Regions from separate parts of the Homo sapiens genome. Here all the other regions are linked to region 3. Evidence: promoter capture Hi-C in 16 types of primary human blood cells and fetal thymus (Javierre and others, 2016). All regions are on one chromosome and are shown on one strand. Each heading gives the region's core, a stretch centred on a gene start or on the middle of the fragment in contact. The rest is flanking DNA. Distances are from core to core; before and after follow the strand shown. Region 1 overlaps PDHX (pyruvate dehydrogenase complex component X). Region 2 overlaps PDHX (pyruvate dehydrogenase complex component X). Region 3 holds the start of SLC1A2 (solute carrier family 1 member 2).

The links. Contacts are between HindIII fragments. The CHiCAGO score rates a contact against its expected background, and 5 or more counts as called.
Region 1: a contact is called between a fragment that was not itself captured here and the fragment with the promoter of SLC1A2 in region 3, in 2 of 17 cell types (M2 macrophages and M0 macrophages). The highest score is 6.6, in M2 macrophages.
Region 2: a contact is called between a fragment that was not itself captured here and the fragment with the promoter of SLC1A2 in region 3, in 4 of 17 cell types (naive CD4 T cells, M2 macrophages, M1 macrophages and 1 more). The highest score is 6.1, in naive CD4 T cells.

What each region holds. Positions count from the first base shown.
Region 1 is chr11:34,994,003-34,996,741 of GRCh38, reverse strand. PDHX (pyruvate dehydrogenase complex component X) reads right to left here. Exons shown (of 11, transcript NM_003477.3): 11 at 614-1,828. The coding sequence ends at 1,570. Among named protein-coding and RNA genes, the nearest start is that of MIR1343, 54 kb to the right of the region's middle. The HindIII fragment of the contact is 5,121 bases long and covers 1-2,739 here.
Region 2 is chr11:34,974,900-34,977,617 of GRCh38, reverse strand. All of the region lies in intron 7 of PDHX (pyruvate dehydrogenase complex component X), which reads right to left. Among named protein-coding and RNA genes, the nearest start is that of MIR1343, 34 kb to the right of the region's middle. The HindIII fragment of the contact is 1,466 bases long and covers 643-2,108 here.
Region 3 is chr11:35,418,164-35,421,087 of GRCh38, reverse strand. It overlaps SLC1A2 (solute carrier family 1 member 2), which reads left to right and starts at 1,530. Exons shown (of 11, transcript NM_004171.4): 1 at 1,530-2,138. The coding sequence starts at 2,122. SLC1A2-AS2 (SLC1A2 antisense RNA 2) reads right to left here and starts at 2,031. Exons shown (of 2, transcript NR_186310.1): 1 at 1,981-2,031; 2 at 86-552. RefSeq lists an enhancer at 1,384-1,884. The HindIII fragment of the contact is 13,046 bases long and covers 1-2,924 here.

The sequences.
Region 1 (2,739 bases), core at 36-2,535, 420 kb after region 3:
ATAATAATAATTTCGATTAAAACTGACCTTGGAAATAATGTAACATAAAAATTATTTTGAAAATAGCCTTTGGTTATAATTTTCAGTGTAACTGTTAATATGACAAAAGTTTTGAAGACTATTTTTTTTAAATGGCTTGTTAAACTGAGTTGGATAGTTGGATTAAGCATTTTCTTAACAATTAATACACCAGGGTGCTAATTATTTTAGAAGGCTCTTCTGTTAGGGTTTATAATTCATCATGTCATACCATACAACTTGTACTATATTAGCCTTTCTTCTATTGATTCATGTCAGCTGACACTAACATAAACCTTTTTGTGACAAGTTAATTAAATTACCATTCATTACCATCCAACTTAAATATAGTTATCTTGACAGTTATAGCAGAGCTGCCAAAAGAGAGAAACAAACTCTTCTAAACTTTATAATAATTAGTGAAAATTTCATATTAGTGAAATAAAAAGGATAGTTCTCATCTGTTTGGCTTCATAAGTCTTCTATTCTCTTTCCAAAGTTTTACATTTCCTATCAGTTACTTTCCTAATGTCATACTAATTTTAAATTCCGTCTTTTCTCCTGTAGAGCCCTTTTAAAGGTGTTCTAGAAAAACTACTAATCAACTTCAAGGTTTATTGAACTTTTGTGTTTTAACATTTAAAATACAATAGAAATGTTTATATTTTCTCACATTTTACTGCACAATACAAAACTGATTTAAATGCATTAAGAAACAACATTTTGTTTTTAAATAAACACTAACAAAATGTTTGGCAAGAGATAACACAATTTATTTAAATATATTCCGACTCAAGATGAAGGCAAGCGGTTTACCTAGAAAGGTTTACATATTTTAGCTATAGTTTTTCATTGAACCATTTTTTTGAAATGTCATTCTTTTCATTCATGCTTCTTTTATCCTCTTGCTTTAGAAGTTCACAGTGTTATATAAGTGAAAAACAAGACAGATAGAAACCACCCTAAACATATGGCTTTATGTACATAAAAAATTCAATAATGTTGCCATAACCCCTAATACAGTGTGATCCTTATTTATTTATTATCCAGAATAAACTTCTGTACCTATTAAATTCTTCAAGTATATCTAGAGCAGTGCTTGTAAAAGTGAGGTCCCACTGCTAAGTTAATGGCCATCTCTTTGAAGATCACTTCTACCTTCAACATAATTATGGTACAGTTCTAATAGTTTTTTTAATTTTACATGTATCATACATTCTCAAATATTCCAAAATGCTCAAATGAGCCAAACATATACTTTGATTTACATCTAGTTTAATATTCCCTTTATACAGCACCAGAGGTTAAAAATGGATCTGAGTAACCAAATATTCTCTTTCCTTTATTAGTTAGAGTTTATCATCATTTATTTCTATAACATTAAACCCAAATTGAAGATGAAGACACCCTGGGTCAAATGCTTTCACCTTAAATAAATAAACATTTCATCCACTTCATACTTAAATACCAAGTTGTTTTCCTATAACATATGTTTCTTGGTAACAACTACTGAATCAACTAAGCTGAACACCAACTTCTTATCTTTGAGGACTAGGCAAGTCGGATAGGATTCTCTAGGTTTGCTTTAAAACTTTTAAGAAACCTGGTTGCCAGTTCGTCATCAACCACTCGACTGTCACTTGACATTGTGACTGTTATGAGCTGGCGCTGCTGCAGTTTGGCATTTCCCTCTTCATCCTCAGTGAGCTTCAGCACAGGTCGGAACCTCCCAACCGCCAAAATGCAGGCCTGAGGAGGGTTAATCACTGCAGTAAATTCGTCGATGCCAAACATCCCCAAGTTGGAAATACTAGGGGGAAAAGAAAAAGCTCTGAAGGAGGCATGTCCTTAATCAAAGTCCCCTTTCCGTGAAGCACATATTTTATATATTTTACTAGGCAGTGTAGTAAGGCAAGAAAAAAATATATGAGTAATGAAAAAAGGAAACATTTAGTATTTACAAATAAATTAATTGTGTACACAGGAAAAATGAGACTATAGATAACTAGTAAAATTAATAAGTAAATTTAGTTAAGTCATCAGATAAAAGGTCAATATAACAATCCATTTTATATCGAGTCATGTCCCACATAACGAAGGATCACATATACAACGGTGGTCTTATAAGATTATAATGGAGCTCAGGAATTTCTGCTGCCTAGTGGCATCATAGCTGTCATAACATCATATTGCAATTACTTTATTTTAAAAATAAATTTAGTGTAGCCTAAGTGTGCAGTGTTTATAAAGTCTACAGTAGTGTATAGTGATGTCCTAAGCATTCACTCATTCACTGATTCTTCCAGAGCAACTTCTAGTCTTGCAAGCTCCATTCACGGTAAGTGCCCTAAACAGGTGTACCATGTTTTACTTTTTACATTTTTACTGTACATTTTAAAAATGCTTAGATATGTTTAGATACCCAAATACTCATCATTGTGTCACAACTGCTTACGGTATTCAGTAGAGTAACATGCTGTATAGGTTTGCAGTCTAGGAGCAACTGGCTATATCATACAGCTAAGGTGTGTAGCAGCATGTACCATTTAGGTTTGTGTAAGTACACTCTATGATGTTTGCATGATTTGCGTAAGTACACTCTATGATGTTTGCATGATGAAACTGCCTAACAATGCATTTCTCATATCCCCATCATAAAGTGGCACATGACTCTACATACAAGTTGCTATAATTAGAAAATAAAAATTTAAAACAATACCA
Region 2 (2,718 bases), core at 126-2,625, 440 kb after region 3:
AAGTGTTCGAAAATTTCTTTTTACTAATGGGGTGTAGGTGAAAAAAAATTTAACTGCTTTTTAACTTAACAAAACAGGATATAACAAAAGCCAAAGATGAAGCAATGCTGGCATAGGTCCTAGTGTGATTAATAAAATGAGGTTCTCCATCCATAGTTTTATGGTGAATGCATTTGAATCAATTTCTTTCCAGTATACATAATGATTTTAAGATAAAGCTGGGGTCCTCCCACTTCCTACGAGCTGATCATAACTAAAGTATTTGTTTATGTCTTTGCATTTGCCACTGGGTATAACAGTGTTAGAAAATGTAAACAACACTTGATTCTTTCTTGCAAGAGCTTATAGAAAAAGACTCTAAGATCTAGATCTAGTCAGTGGTATGTGGCAAAAAACCTATCCTATTACTAAAGTATCACGGAATTTTAGGTGAATAACAGCTCATTCCAAAGGCATCCTGGAGACTACAGAAAGGGATTAGATGAATTACCATAAACCTAAATACTGTCAAACTGTCACGATAACTGTCAGCTGCAAAGTATCAAAGCTCCTCTAATTCAGAATTCCAGAAATATATAAACATTTTTGCTTAAAACCCCTTTAGGAATAGAAATATAAATGGACTTACAGTGCTTACAAGCTTTTAATGATAACCACATAGAAAGATTTGGTTTGTACAAATTCAAATGTAACAGTTCATGAACTTACTCTGCTTACCTTTCATGGCTCTCTCAGCTTTCTCTTCACTTTATCTACTTACCCACAGGTATTCACAGTGAAGACTTCTAAAACCATCTGCCAGCTAATGACCCCCAAACCTACCACCTAAGTCCACAGTCCTCACTTAAAATTCTGTATTCAGCATACTCCCACATTTAGGAACATTCTTGAGTTGAATGAAATATATTCTTTTACTGGCTCCTATGTCACTATACTCTCCTGGTTTTCTTCCACTTTCTGCCCACTCACTCATTTTTATTCCTTTCCTCTCAATGTTGGCATCTCCCCAGGCTAGAAGTTCCAGTTCCAATTCCAAGGTTTTGATACCATTTATATAATGATGACTCTTCCAAATTCTACCTCTAATTCTGAGATACTGAGGCTTCAGACTTGTATATCCAACTTCTCACATGAAATTTCTACTTGCATCGCTTACAAGCATCTCAAATCTAACATGTGTAAAGTAGGTTTCTCTTTGAATTCCTTTATTTTTAACTCTTTATAATGGAGATTTTCCAAACATATTGAAAGGAGATGCTGTTACATTTACTGAGTAGAAAACAGTTTGTAAGGTAATATCAAACATTCTCATTTACACATTGTCAAGACAGAAAAGCAAAGTGTGAAGCATGCATACAGAATGTTATGTATTGTAACTTTATATGAGAAAGAGGAGTGAAGATAGATAATGTGGGGTGTAAAGATTTTTAAGAAAATTCCTAATTACCAAGGTGTACCAAAACTGGACCATGCAAAGATAATAAACTAATCCATATCTCCTCTGAAATATTACTGTTTTCTGCCTTATTAGAGTAAGAAAACAGGAAAGTGATTCCCATATTAACCTCTATATCATGACTAAGCAAGTATGATCTGAGAACTACAGGAGTGTTTCCAGGGTTCATTTTTTAGAAACTTCTCACTTTCTTTAAAATAGCTTTCCATTTAGTTCCTTGAACTTTTAAAAGCTCTCAAGTTGTCTTTATATGAAATCTTGAAACTCTGTATATAAACTGATAAAAGTCCTGCTTTCACCTGGGATGTAGAAAGTTGCAAAAGAAAGCTGTTCCCATCCTGACAGGGTGAAAGAAAAAGCAGGATAAATTACAAAATCGTAACTTTTCTTGAGCTCATTAGGGAGCGGAGGTTACAAAGCAAACAGGTGAACTGAATGCCAAAGAGTGATAATCCACTCAGAGGAGAGACAAACACAGGAAGTAAATACCCACTGTCAGAGTACAGGAGTAAAGAGGGCAGAGTATGGTACAACATGCATAAACAGATGGCGACTAGCAGCAGAGAAATGGAAACTAAAAAAACATTCAATTGGAAATCCAGAGGGGAAAATCCATGCTAACCAAGATAAAAAATATATATTTTGCTAAGCTTTGCAGACACAGCTAAGAAATCAGTGAACTTGAAGCTAGGTAAACAAAAATTATCCAATATGAAACATAAAGAGAAAAAAGAATGAACAAAAAAAATAGAGCATTTAAGAGCTTTGGGCAATTCAAAAAGTCTAACATTTAAAATTGGAGCCCCAAAGAGAAACCACATGGAACAGAAGATATCATTAAAAATAACTGGAAATTTTTCACAATTAAAGGAAGACAACAAACCATACATCTAAGAAGCTGAGAGAAACCCAAACAGTAAATACAATAGAAAAAAAAATCTAGGCATACAATAGCCAAATTGGTAATGCAAAAATCTTGAAAGCAACCAGACAGGTGGAAAACATCATATACAATGGAACAAATATTAAGAACGGCAGCAGACATTCTAAGACAGAAAATAAAGAAATAGTATCTTTATTTAAAGAACTGAAACAAAACCCCTATTAACTGAAAAATCTATATCCAGCAAAAATAATTCTTAAAAATGATAAAGATATATCCATTAGGGTGACTACTATCAAAAACCAGAAAATAACAAGTATTGGCAAAAATGTGGAGAAATTTCAACCTTTGTGCACTTCATTTTTGTTTTTGGAGACAG
Region 3 (2,924 bases), core at 281-2,780:
GAGAGATGGAGAAAGGCATGGATGGAAGATGACGTTTGGATTCAGATTTTGGAAAGGAGAGTAAAGGAAGGAGGTAAGCAGAGATTTATTTTTTAAATTTTATTAATGTGTTTTCCCCTCTTTTTCTTGTTATTTTTCTCATCTGTCTGTTCATACTTGGATATTTTGTCCAATAAACTATCTTCTAAGGACTCTGAAAATGCACTGAATATTTTTGGAGGGTTTACTGGGTGCCAGACGCCACTTTAGGAGTTTTACATATCCTCTCCATTTCATTTAGTTCTCTTAGCACAGAGAAGTGGGAGAAGATAGTCCCATTTTACAGGTGGGATGAAGAGAGAGATGGAGGAATTTGCCCCAGGTTACTCAGCTAGAAGGTGGTGAAGAACTCAAGCCTTCGGATATCAGCGCCTGGCATTTAACTACCAATCGGTCCTGCTGGGACTCCGGCTCCTCTGGCACCATCCCCGGGACCTACTCAGAGAGTTTGCACGTGGCCGGTCGCGTTCCATCGTCTAACAAGGTCCAGCACAGCGCAAATCCGAAGATCGTCTACCCCGGGGAAAAAGAGAGTCTGTTTAATTCTCCTGTGGCCCTCCAAGTGAGTTCTTTTGGGTTCCATTGCCTAGACGAGGAAAGTGAGGCTTTGCCTGCTCTGCGCTCACAGGGTCGGCAAGTAGTGGGACCCTAGGTTCCTGCAGTATTCCAGAGATAATCAAAGCTGCACAGGTCTCGTCATTTTTATGCAAAGGCGTCCGGAAGGCTCGAACTCTCCCTTGCACAAGCCCATCTGTCTCTGTGCGCCGCCCCCGGGACACGGAAGCAGGCGGCGAGCAGCGCCGAGTGGGTGGAGAACCGTCCCCCGCCACTCACCCCTCGGCCAACTCTCCGCGCCTTCTCAGCCGGCACCCACGAGGCCGACCTCTCTCGGCCTAAAAAAAAAAAAAAAAAATCCCGGCCTCCCCTGCACCCCGCCCGCCGCCCCCAGGGAGCTGCATTAATATTAATCTCGCTGAATAATTGAAGGCCAGAGATTTATTCGAGCTTCGGCGGGGGAGGGAGCGCAGCTGGGCCGCGTTTAGGCTGCACCACCCGCGTGTTTCAGCCGCTCGACTCCGCTGGACCTGGGACCCCCAGACGTGGGAGGATGGGGTGGGTGTGCCTGCCTGTGAGTTTGGGGGTGAGTGTGAGCTGAAGCGGGTGCTCCGGGGAGTGAGGAGGGAGCGCCAGGGGCTGCTCCAGGGAGGCGGAGACGGAGGGGCATCCCGGGTCTCCGCGCGGTCGCCTGCGCTTCACCCCGCACGGGGTGACCTGGGGCCACGCGGGCTTCAGGGGAAACAATAGCTACTCCTTAGATCCTGGGCTCCTGCCACCGGCTGCCCAAGCCTTCCCGGACGAGCGGCGGGGCCTCTTTTCTTATTTGGCTAATTTATGGCGAGAGGCTGGGGGGAGGGATGGCAGAGGAGGGACCGCGACTGGAGATGGGGGCGGGGGGCGGCGGTTAAAGGAGTTGCCCGAGGCGGCGGCGCGGGTGATGTCAGCTCTCGACGAAAATAGAGAGGGATCGCCTGCAAATCCCCAGCTCCGGCGGGGCTAAACCTTGCAATCCCTCCCTGGCCGGCGCCGAGCCAGAGCGCAGCGGCCTCCACCGCCTCCCCAGGCGCGCACACACCCGCACACGCGCACGCACGCTCACCGTCCTCTGCCACCACTCTCTGCTCCCGCCACTCGCCGCGCCCGCGAGCCCCGCAGCAAAGCACAGGTGGCAGCGGCTGCAGGGGCGCATCGCCGGCGTGCGCCCTCCTGCAGCCCTGGGCGCATCGCTCTCTCGGGGAAGCCACCCTCGGAGCCCCCGGAGCTCCCCGCCAAGCGCCATCCCCGCGGGCGGAGGGGAGCGCGGGTCGCGCGCCGTGGAGAGCCGGGACGCGGATTAGCGCCCGCAGGAGCCTCCTGCGCCCGTTGAGGCGCTAAAGGGCTTACCCCGGAGGCGGGTGGAAGGGCGGGCAGAGGCTCCTCTTAAATACCGCTCCCGGCCGCACTTCGCGCTCACCCCGGCGTCCGCTTTCTCCCTCGCCCACAGCTGCCGGATAGTGCTGAAGAGGAGGGGGCGTTCCCCAGACCATGGCATCTACGGAAGGGTGAGGGGATTTTTATCTGTACCCGCGGGAAAGCGGGGTCACGCGCGGGGTGGTGGCGCCCCTATCCGGGATGCGGATAGAGAGGCGGCGGCGGCGGGCCTCGGAGGTGGTGGCGGAGCCGTAGCTTGGCTGGGGATGGGATGGTGGGGAGGGGATTGATTTTCTTTCCTGGAGATTGCTGCTTAATCCTTTGAAAATGCGAGAGGTGGAGGGTTGTTTTATTTTGATAAAAAGGGTAAGGTGCGCTGGGGGCCTGAGAGTGTGAGGAAGAAATCCTCTTGAGGTTACTTTTGGGATTTCAAAACAATAGGGGATTGGGCATAGTGTGAGCAGACACCGGGGTAGCAGCGCCTGGAGCGCGGCGCCCCAGGCCCGAGGCGGGCTTGCAGGTGGTGCCGGCTCGGAAGGAATGAGCCAAGACAGGGCCCTGGGGCGGGGCAAGGACCAGCGCGCGCGGCCTTGAACGCCAGGTTTGCAGAGTCGCCATGGAGATGCTGGGCCCGCTCCGATCGGTCCTTGTCCCTGGAAGGCGGAATCTCCCTGGCTAGCTCTAAGGAAGGGTGGAAGAGATTTGGGTGCTTCCCGGGAGGCGGGAAAACGTGTGGTTTGGGACAAGGGCAGGAGTCGCCAGACTCCAGCGGGCAGGGATAGCATTGGCTTCCCTATTCAGCCCGAGGATCTGGAGTCGTGTCCTGCCTCCCAAGATTCCAGCTGGCATGGGGAAAGCTCCCTCGCAGTGATAACTAAAGACAATTGTCTTTAGCAAGAGACAGAAGGGGCTGCAGG